Regions from separate parts of the Homo sapiens genome. Here all the other regions are linked to region 3. Evidence: promoter capture Hi-C in human tissues and cell types (Jung and others, 2019). All regions are on one chromosome and are shown on one strand. The core of a region is centred on a gene start or on the middle of the fragment in contact, and the rest is flanking DNA. Distances in the headings are between cores, read along the strand shown. Region 1 overlaps MYO9B (myosin IXB). Region 2 overlaps MYO9B (myosin IXB). Region 3 holds the start of NWD1 (NACHT and WD repeat domain containing 1).

Region 1 (3,235 bases), core at 509-3,008, 360 kb before region 3:
GAGATGGGATCTTACTCTCTTGCCCAGGCTGGAGTGCAGTGGCACAAGATCACGGCTCACTGCAACCTCTGCCTCCTGGGTTCAAGCAATTCTTCTGCCTCAGCCACCCAAGCAGCTGGGATTACAGGTGTGTGCCACTACACCCAGCTAATTTTTGTATTTTTAGTAGAGACTGGGTTTCATCATGTTGGCCAGGCTGGTCTCAAACTCCTGACCTTAGGTGATCCTCCCACCTCGGCCTCCCAAAGTGCTGGGATTACAGGCGTAAGCCACTGCACCAGGCCTCTCACCTCTCTTTAGTCACCCCTGAATGTATGAGTGTGAGATCTGGAAAACAGGGAGCGTCCAAAATTGATGTGGCCAACCAACCTGCTCACCCTTAAAGTGTTTATTTAAAGGAGTGAGAAGAGACAAAATGGACCTATTCTCTATTGACACGATCATTTCCCTCCAGGTTCCTATATTATCTAAAAATGTAAGTTGAGGCCGGGCACGGTGGCTCACATCTGTTATCCCAGCACTTTGGGAGTCCGAGCGGGCTGATCACCTGATGTCAGGAGTTTAAGACCAGCCTGGTCAACACAATGAAAGCCCATCTCTACTAAAAATACAAAAAGTAGCTGGGCGTGGTGGCGCACGCCTGTAGTCCCAGCTACTCGGGAGGCTGAGGCAGGAGAATCACTTGAACCTGGGAGACAGAGGTTGCAGTGAGCTGAGATCGCGTCACTGCACCCCAGCCTGGGTGACAGAGTGAGACTCTGCCCCCGCCCCCAAAATAAATAAACAAATAAATAAAAATGTAATTTGAATTTGTCCTTTTCTCAGTATTATGGGCTGAGCTGTGTCCACCACTCCCCTCCACAAAGAAATATTCACATATTGAAATCCTAAACCTCAGAACTTCAGAGTATGAGTATATTTGGGATTTTTTTTTTTTTTAAGAGATGGGGGTGTCGTTCTGTCACCCAGGCTGGAATGCAGTGCCATGATCATAGCTCACTGTAGCCTCAAACTCCCAGGCTCAAGCGATCTGTCTGTCTCAGCTTCTTAAAGTGCTGGGACCACAGGCATTCACCATCATGTCTAGCTAATTTTAGTATTTTTTTGTAGAGATGGGATCTTGCTATGTTGTCCAGGCTGGTCTTAAACTCCTGGCCTCAAGTGATCCTCCTGCCTCAGCCTCCCAAAGGGCTGAGATTACAGGCGTGTGCCACCAAGCCTCGCCTAGAGACAGGGTCTTTATGGGGATGATTCAGTTAAAATGATGTCATTAGGGTGGGCCCCCTTCCATATGACTGCTGTCCTCATAAGAGGAAATTTGGACACAGAGACAGGCACAGAGGGAGGACGATGTGAAGACCCAGGGGAAGACGGCTATGTATGAGCCAACAGAGAGAGGCGTGGAACAGATTCTCACAGCCCTCCGAAGGCACGAACCCTGCCAACACCTTGATCTTGAATGTGATCTTAAACGTCTGGCCTCTAGAACTGCAAGCCAATATACTTCTGTCGTTCTGGCCACCCAGCGTGCGGTTCTGTTACAGCAGCCCTAGCAAACTCAGGCACCCAGCAACAACAGTCATGAAACACCCCTAGCGGGGCTCCTTCTCTTGCACATACAGCCCTGTGCAGCAGGGCAGAGATGGGTTTTAAACAAGTGAGTCAGACAAGGATATCTTATTCATCACTCCGACGAACCCATGGGCTGAACCCTTGAATCACTACTTTATTTATCATCGGGCTCGGGCTCAGAAAGTCTCGCTGAGGAAATGAGTAGAACCCAAACTCGTCAGCTGCATTTCTGAAACATGCCTAATCTCTGAGGCTCTTTCCCAGCCACGATAGAAATTGAAAGGGAACGGGGCTCTGGGCTGCGGCGGTGGGCTGGTGTGGAGACAGAGCCCTTTGTTCTGCCACTCCAGGGACCACGAGGGCAGAAGAGAAGGGCTTGTCTTGCTTTGCCGAGAGGCCGCCTGGGGCCGTCTGAATGGCCGGCCGAGCAGGGGCAGCCTGGCACAGCTGGGCTGGGGATGCCGGGCACACAAAGGGCTGGTGGGTGGGGTGTGGGGGCAGCACCCAGAAGGGACCGTCAGTCCCGTGGCCCCAGAGCGTCTCCTCCAATCAAGGTAAAGCAGCAAAGTCACGGTCAAGGAGGGGGCCAAGCAGGGAAGGGGACAGCAAGATGGACCAAGAACAAAAATTCAGCAGTATGTGCTTGGGAACGGGCGGGCGAAAGGGCCCATGGAAGAGATAATGCAGCTTACAAAAGCGACGTTTATCCGGGGCAACCTCCAAAGTAGCTCTTGGGAGAGAATCTAATACCTCTAATCTCAGAAGAAAAGCAACAGATCATTCTAAGACGAGGACAGTTCCTCCAGAAATCCAGGTCAGTCACAAGACAAAGAAAAGACAAGGGCACCCGCTGTCCACCCTCGGGCACGTTGCCTACCCTCCCACAGTCCGTTCCTAACGGTTCCTCCTTTTTATCAAGACCCGCTCCCTCCTGATTAAGAACTGACTGGATGGCAGGATTCAGTTCCTGGTCTCTGCCCCTGTTCCCACTCTTAGTGGCAGTTCCTCAGGGGCTCCACAAACACCAAGGACCCACCAAGGCAATGATGGGCCCTAGAGGGGAACCAGGTTTTACTAATGAGCATCACATTTCACCTGGCGGGGGAGGTGATTCTGCCCCCAGGGGACACGTGGCCATGGCTGGAGTCATTTTCAGTTGTTACCCCTTGGAGGGGATGGAATACTACTGGCATCTCATGGGTGACAGCCAGGGACACTATTCCACATTCTACAGTGCACAGCCCCAACTGTCAATGGTGATGCGGGTGAGAAACGGCCCTGGAGATTTGGGTTTCCCCAGTTAAAGGTTACTAAGGATCCTGCATGTTTCTAGAAAGCTCAAGGAACCATCTCTGAAGTCATCACCTGCCTGGGCCTGTTTCTGTATCAGGAAGATAAGAACAAGGACCCTCGCACTGCCGGTTGGCAGAATGAGAGAGCTGGGATGCCCTGTACAGGCCGGGCTTCAAAGGTATCTGCTTGTGCAATCCCTTCCACCCGGAGTGGTTTAACACGTGGTATCTTTCCAGGTTTGACCTGGGGCCAGCCACTACTTCCGAGGAAACTTGCTGGAATCCCCCTTGTCCTAAAGCTTGCATTGGTTGTCCCTAATTCTCCCCCCATAATATCTTGTGGCCCCTCTGTCACCGTACTGATGACCTGA
Region 2 (3,227 bases), core at 557-3,056, 450 kb before region 3:
ATTGGCAAGGGATGGGTCTGATAGAGCTGCTGATAAGACAATATGTCCATATCTTAACCCCATACCACCAACTTTTGAATGTGACCTTATTTGGAAAATAGGGTCTTTGGAGATGTAATTAGTTAAGATGAGGTCATTAGCGTGGGACCTAGTTCCATATGGATGGTGTCCTTCTAAAAACAGAAGACAGGGTCAGGTGTAATGGCTCACACCTATGGTCCCAGCACTTTGGGAGGTCAAGGTGAGAGGACTGCTTGAGCCCAGGAGTTCAAGACTAGCCTGGGCAATACAGGGAGATTCCATCTCTACAAAAAAAAATTTTTAAGCAGCCTGGCCAACATGGTGAAAAAACCCCATCTCTACTAAAAATACAAAAATTAGCTGGGCATGGTGGCAAGGCACCTGTGATCCCAGCTACTCGGGAGGCTGAGACACGAGAATCGCTTGATCCTGGGAGGTGGGGGTTACAGTGAGCTGAGATGACGCCAATTAACTTGAGCCAAGATGGCGCCACTACCCTCCAGCCTGGGCAACAGAGCAAGAAGAGCCTGTCTCAAAAAAAAAAAAAAAAAAAAAAAAAAAAAGGAGGAGACAGGATTGAGATGAATGATGCAGACACAGAGGGAAGAAGTCCATGTGAAGAGGAAGAGGGAGGCAGGGACTGGAGTGATGTGGCCAAAAGCCAAGGAAAGCTTGGACCCCTAGAAGCTGGAGGAGGCAAGAAAGGGTCCTCCCTTGGAGCCTCTGGAGGCAGCACAGCTCTGCTGACAGTTTGACTTTAGACTTCCAGCTTCCAGAACCATAAGAGAATAGATTACTGTGGTTTTAAGAACTCCACCTCCCGGGTTCAAACAATTCTCCTGCCTCAGCCTCCCAAGTAGCTGGAATTATAGGCACCCGCCACCATGCCTGGCTAATTTTTGCATTTTTAGTAGAGATGGGGTTTTGCCATGTTGGCCAGGCTGGTTAAAAATTTTTTTGTAGAGATGGAATCTTTTTTTTTTTTTTTTTTTTTGAGACAGAGTCTTGGTCTGTCACCCAGGCTGGAGTGCAATGGAGTGATCTCCGCTCACTGCAACCTCCGCCTCCCAGGTTCAAGCAATTTTCCTGCCTCAGCCTCCTGAGTAGCTGGGATTACAGGCGCCTGTCACCATGCCCGGCTAATTTTTGTATTTTCAGTAGAGACGGGGCTTCACCATGTTGGCCAGGCTGGTCTCCAACTCCTGACCTCAGGTGATCCGCCTGCCTCGGCCTCCCAAAGTGCTGGGATTACAGGCGTGAGCCACTGTGCCTGGCCGAGGTGGAATCTTTCTGTGTTGCCCAGGCTGGTCTTGATCTCCTGGGCTCAAGAGCCCACCTGGCTTGTAGCGGTTCCTTAGAGGAGCCACAGGAAAGTAGTTCGGTATGTGTCACGTGATTTCAGTGACTACAACTGGGTGACCCAGAATGAGGTGCCTTATTGACCTGTCTGCCTTCACAGCGCCCTGTGGACTGTGGGGATGAGGGAGGAAGGCTCAGAAGTGAGACCAGAGCCCAGCAGCATCTGGGTCCCAATTCCACACACTGCACTGCCCTTTGTAACAACTCGCCAATCCTGTCTCTTGCTCCATTGCCCAGGCTGGAGTGCAGTGACACGATCACAGCTCCCTGCAGCCTCAACCTCCCAGGCTCAAGTGATCCTCCTGTCTCAGCCTCCTGAGTAGCTGGGGCCACAGGTATGCCCCACCACGTCTGGCCCCAGTGTCTAGTTTCTAGGCATAGGCCCATAATCCTTTGCTGAAAACTCCTGGCGGATGTGCCTCAAGTGCACGAATTAATCACACGTGTTGATGTTTTCACAATGAGGTGTTTGTGCATTTTGCACACACGAGCTTGGGTTTTGTGGTCAAGTGAAATGAACAGACACAAGTTCTCAGCACAAGGTCTGGCGTGGTGGCACACGCCTGTAATCCCAGTACTCTCGGAGGCCAAGGCGGGAGGATCCCTTGAGCTAAGGAGTTCAAGACCAGCCTGGAAAACATGACGAAACCCTGTTGCTACAAAGAAATACAAAAATTAGCCGGGTATGGTGGTGTGACCCTGTAGTCCCAGCTACTCCAGAGGCTCACGTCAGGGGATCACTTGAGCCCAGGAGGTCAAGGCTGCAGTGAGCTTTGATTGCACCACTACACTCCAGCCTGGGTGACAGAGTGAGACCCTGTCTCAAAAATAAAAAGGCGCTCTTGGGAAAGTCTGGATTTGGGGTAAGGCTCTGGGGGCTGCAGAACCTGACCCAGTGCCCATGCGTAGATGTGCCGGGATGGACGGGGTGTGGACACTCACTTGCTCTCCTCGTCCAGCAGGTAGAAGAGGCCCGTGGGTTTCTTGCTGATGAGATGGATGCAGCCGACATTGTCTGTGTAGCCGATGTTGTGCCACGTGATCCCCTCGCCCTGATATTCCTCCTGCAGGGGTGGCGCGGGGTCGGTAAGTTTCTTATCTCCCAGATATGTAATATCTACATAACATATATTGCATACAGGTCGAGTATCCCTAATCCGAAAATCTGAAATGCTTCAAAATAGGAAACTTTTTAAACTGATGCGTGGCTTAAAATTAACTCTAATAGGGCTGGGCACAGTGGCTCACGCCTGTAATCCCAGCACTTTGGGAGGCCAAGGCAGGTGGATCACCTGAGGTCAGGAGTTTGAGACCAGCCTGACCAACATAGCAAAATCCCATCTCTACTAAAGATACAAAATTAGCCAGGCGTGGTTGCACAAGCCTGTAATCCCAGCTACTCAGGAGGCTGAGGCAGGAAAATCGCTTGAACACGGGAAGTGGAGGTTGCAGTGAGCCAAGATTGCGCCATTAGTCCTACTCCAGCCTGGGCAACAAGAGCGAAACTCCGTCACAAAAAAAAAAAAAAAAAAATAGCTCTAATAATACACTTAATTTAACATGATATATCCAAAATGTGATCATGTTAACATGTAACTGACATAAAAAGTAACTGAGAGGCCAAGGTGGTAGGATCGCTTGAGGCCAGGAGTTCAAGACCAGCCTGGACAACATAGCAAGATCCTGTCTGTGCAAAAAATAAAAAGTAAAAAATACTTTACTGAGGCTGGAGGATGGCTTGAGTCCAGGAGTTTGAGACCAGCCCGGGCAATATAGCAAGACTCCATCTCAAAAAAAAAAAAAAAAATCCAAAACTTTTGGACTGCCAATGTTATGTGATGCTCAAA
Region 3 (3,333 bases), core at 55-2,554:
AGGCTGGGTGCAGTGGCTCACACCTCTAATCCCAGCACTTTGAGAGGCCAAAACAGGCAGATTACTTGAGGCCAGGAGTTCGAGACCAGCCTGGCCAACATGGCGAAACCCCATCTCTACTAAAAATACAAAAATTAGCTGGCGCGGTGGCATGTACCTGTAATCCCAGCTACTCGGAAGCCTGAGGCAGGAGAATCGCTTGAACCCGGGAAGCAGAGGTTGCAGTGAGCCGAGATCGTGCCACTGCGCTCCAGCCTGGGCAACAGAGCAAGGCTCCATCTCAAAAAGAAAAAGTCTCGGCCAGGTGCGGTGGCTCACGCCTGTAATCCCAGCACTTTGGGAAGCCGAGGAGGGCAGATCATGAGGTCAGGAGATCGAGACCATCCTGGCTAACACGGTGAAACCCCGTCTCTACTAAAAATACAAAAAATTAGCCGGGCATGTGGCGGACACCTGTAGTCCCAGCTACTCAGGAGGCTGAGGCAGGAGAATGGTGTGAACCTGGGAGGCAGAGCTTGCAGTAACTGAGATCACGCCACTGCACTCCAGCCTAGTGACAGAGCGAGACTCCGTCTCAAAAAAAAAAAAGTCTCCCTAGACATTGCAATGTCCCCTAGGGGGCAGAATTCCCCTTACTCGAGAACCCCCTAGTCTAATGCATTTAGCTTATTTCAACCTCAGGGCCTTTGCACGTCCTGTACTTTAGTGCTCTATGCTGCATCTGTTCATGTTGTTCACATTTTAGCTTCAATGCTACCTCCTCCTGAGAGGCTGTCTCTGACCATCCCATTGCGTAGTGACCCCTTAAGTCACTCCCAATGCCATCGCCTTATTTTAATTTTCTGCATGGTACTCACCAACAGCTGATATGTTTCTACATGTTATTGTTTGTCTGTCCCACGAGAAAGTGAATTCCATGAGCCCAAGGATCTTGTCTGGTAAGGCTGGCGTGCCTGGCACATAGTAGGTGCTCAGTAAATTATCATCACAACAGCTTCCTCCACAACTGTTTCTCTTTCTGGACTTCTGTTTGTTGCTGAAGAAGACAGCTGAGCAGGACTGGGCTTCCCCAGTAAGGACAGAGGCCCTTTGCAGTGTCAGCGTTCTGGCTGTCCTGGGGGCTCCAGCCTCTCTTTAGCCTTTGCTGGTAGTTGAACGACCAATTTAGACTCCTCTGGGGAAATAGGTTAGAGAGGACAGTTTCCTGGCCTCGGCGCCACCCGGAAGACAAGCCCCTGGCTATCCTAGTAACTTTCGTCTTAGGTATTTTATGGGTCTCTCCTTGCCCAATTCTCCCAGCAACTGGGATAATGAAAGCGATTGTTTGCACTAGGGCACCAGCTTAGCCGGGCATTCAGCCCAGACTTAGTGGTTAACTATTGTGTGCCAGGCTGATACGGCTCCTCGTAAAAGATGCCATTTGCTGACAGTCTAGGAGGTGCAGTTGGTTGGCATTTGGCATTAGCAGTCCACATTATTACCCCAAGAGACAGACATTATGATCCTGTTTCACAGATGAAGAAAACAAGATGCAGAAAGGTGAAGTCCCTTGCCTGTGACGCTTCACTACTCTGCACTTGAATTTTCTCACTAACTTCCTGTGTTGGTGAGACAATGAAAAGCATTTATATAGAGAGTGAGACTAACACTACACCTACATCACAGGAAGGGCCCGTGAGATGTTAGCCATGATTAATTACCATTAAAACTCCAAGACCGGGCACGGTGGCTCATGCCTGTAATCCCAGCACTTTGGGAGGCCGAGGCAGGCGGATCACCTGAGGTCAGGCATTCAAGACCAGACTGGCCAATATGGTGAGACCCCTATCTCTACTAAAAATAGAAAAATTAGCTGGGCGTGGTGACGCATGCCTGTAATCCCAGCTACTTGGGAGGCTGAGGCACAAGAATTGTTTGAACCTGGGAGTTGGAGGTTGCAATGAGCCGAGATCCTGCCACTGCACTGCAGCCTGGGCGACAGAGCAAGACTTTGTCTCAAAAACTCACAAATCACCCGGGCATGGTGGCTCACGCTAGTAATCCCAGCACTTTGGGAGGCCAAGGCAGGCAGATCACGAGGTCAGGAGATCAAGACCATCCTGGCTAACACGGTGAAACCCCGTCTCTACAAAAAAAACAAAACAAAACAAAACAAAAAATTAGCTGGGCGTGGTGGTTTGCACCTGTAGTCCCAGCTACTCAGGAAGCTGAGGCAGGAGAATGGCATGAACCCGGGAGGTGGAGCTTGCAGTGAGCCGAGATCGCACCACTGCACTCCAGCCTGGGTGACAGAGCGAGACTTTGTCTCAAAAACTCACAAGTCACCCAGGCATGGTGGCTCACGCCAGTAATCCCAGCACTTTGGGAGGCCAAGGCAGGCAGATCACGAGGTCAGGAGATCAAGACCATCCTGGCTAACATGGTGAAACCCTGTCTCTACATAAAAAACAAAAAACAAAAAACAAAAAATTAGCTGGGCGTGGTGGTTTGCACCTGTAGTCCCAGCTACTCAGGAAGCTGAGGCAGGAGAATGGCATGAACCTGGGAGGTGGAGCTTGCAGTGAGCCGAGATTGCGCCACTGCACTCCAGCCTGGGCGACAGAGCAAGCCTCCATCTCAAAGAAAAAGTAATAATAATAGTGTTACTATATTTTCAGGGATAGAAGTTTCAGATACTTGGTCAGGCGCGGTGGCTCATGCCTGTAATCCCAGCACTTTGGGAGGCCGAGGTGGGCAAATCACCTGAGGTCAGGAATTTGAGACCAGCTTGGCCAATATGGTGAGACCCCATCTCTACTAAAAACAAAAATTAGCCAGGCATGGTGGCAGGTGCCTGTAATCCCAGCTACTTGGGAGGCTGAGGCAGGAGGATCACTTAAACCTGGGAGGCAGAGGTTGCAGTGAGCAGAGATTACGCCATTGCACTCCAGCCTGGACGACAGAGCCACACTACACTCCATCTCACAAAAAAAAAAAAAAAAGAAGTTTCAGGTGCTGCCAGGCACAGTGGCATGCTCCTGTAGTCCCAGCTACTGGGGAAGCCAAGGTGGGAGGATCACTCAAGGCCAGGAGTTCAAGACCAGCCTGGGCAACATAGTGAGACCCTCATCTCTACAACAACAACAATAACAAAAAATTAGCTGGGCGTGGTGGTGTGTGCCTGTAGTCCCAACTACTCGGGAGGTTGAGGTGGGAGGATTACTTGAGCCCAGAAAGTCAAGGCTGCAGTGAGATATGATTGCCTCACTGCACTCTAGCCTGGGCAACAGAGCAAAACCCTGTCTCTTTAAAACAAAAAAAGAAAAAGAAAAGAAAAGAAGTTTTAGGGGCTGA

Evidence for each region. The method cuts DNA at HindIII sites, captures the fragments that hold promoters and counts their contacts. A contact is called where the count stands out against the background at its distance.
Region 1: a contact is called between a fragment that was not itself captured here and the fragment with the promoter of NWD1 in region 3, in 1 of the 25 tissues and cell types used here (mesenchymal stem cells).
Region 2: a fragment that was not itself captured here is called in contact with the fragment with the promoter of NWD1 in region 3 in 7 of the 25 tissues and cell types used here (IMR-90 fibroblasts, bladder, dorsolateral prefrontal cortex and 4 more).

What each region holds. Positions count from the first base shown.
Region 1 is chr19:17,078,576-17,081,810 of GRCh38, reverse strand. All of the region lies in intron 1 of MYO9B (myosin IXB), which reads right to left. Among named protein-coding and RNA genes, the nearest start is that of MYO9B, 4.4 kb to the right of the region's middle. RefSeq lists an enhancer at 1,515-2,052 and a silencer at 2,065-2,164. The HindIII fragment of the contact is 3,543 bases long and covers 1-3,235 here.
Region 2 is chr19:17,167,160-17,170,386 of GRCh38, reverse strand. MYO9B (myosin IXB) reads right to left here. Exons shown (of 40, transcript NM_004145.4): 11 at 2,323-2,444. Among named protein-coding and RNA genes, the nearest start is that of USE1, 47 kb to the left of the region's middle. The HindIII fragment of the contact is 6,459 bases long and covers 1-3,227 here.
Region 3 is chr19:16,717,818-16,721,150 of GRCh38, reverse strand. NWD1 (NACHT and WD repeat domain containing 1) reads right to left here and starts at 1,304. Exons shown (of 19, transcript NM_001007525.5): 1 at 858-1,304. The HindIII fragment of the contact is 25,691 bases long and covers 1-3,333 here.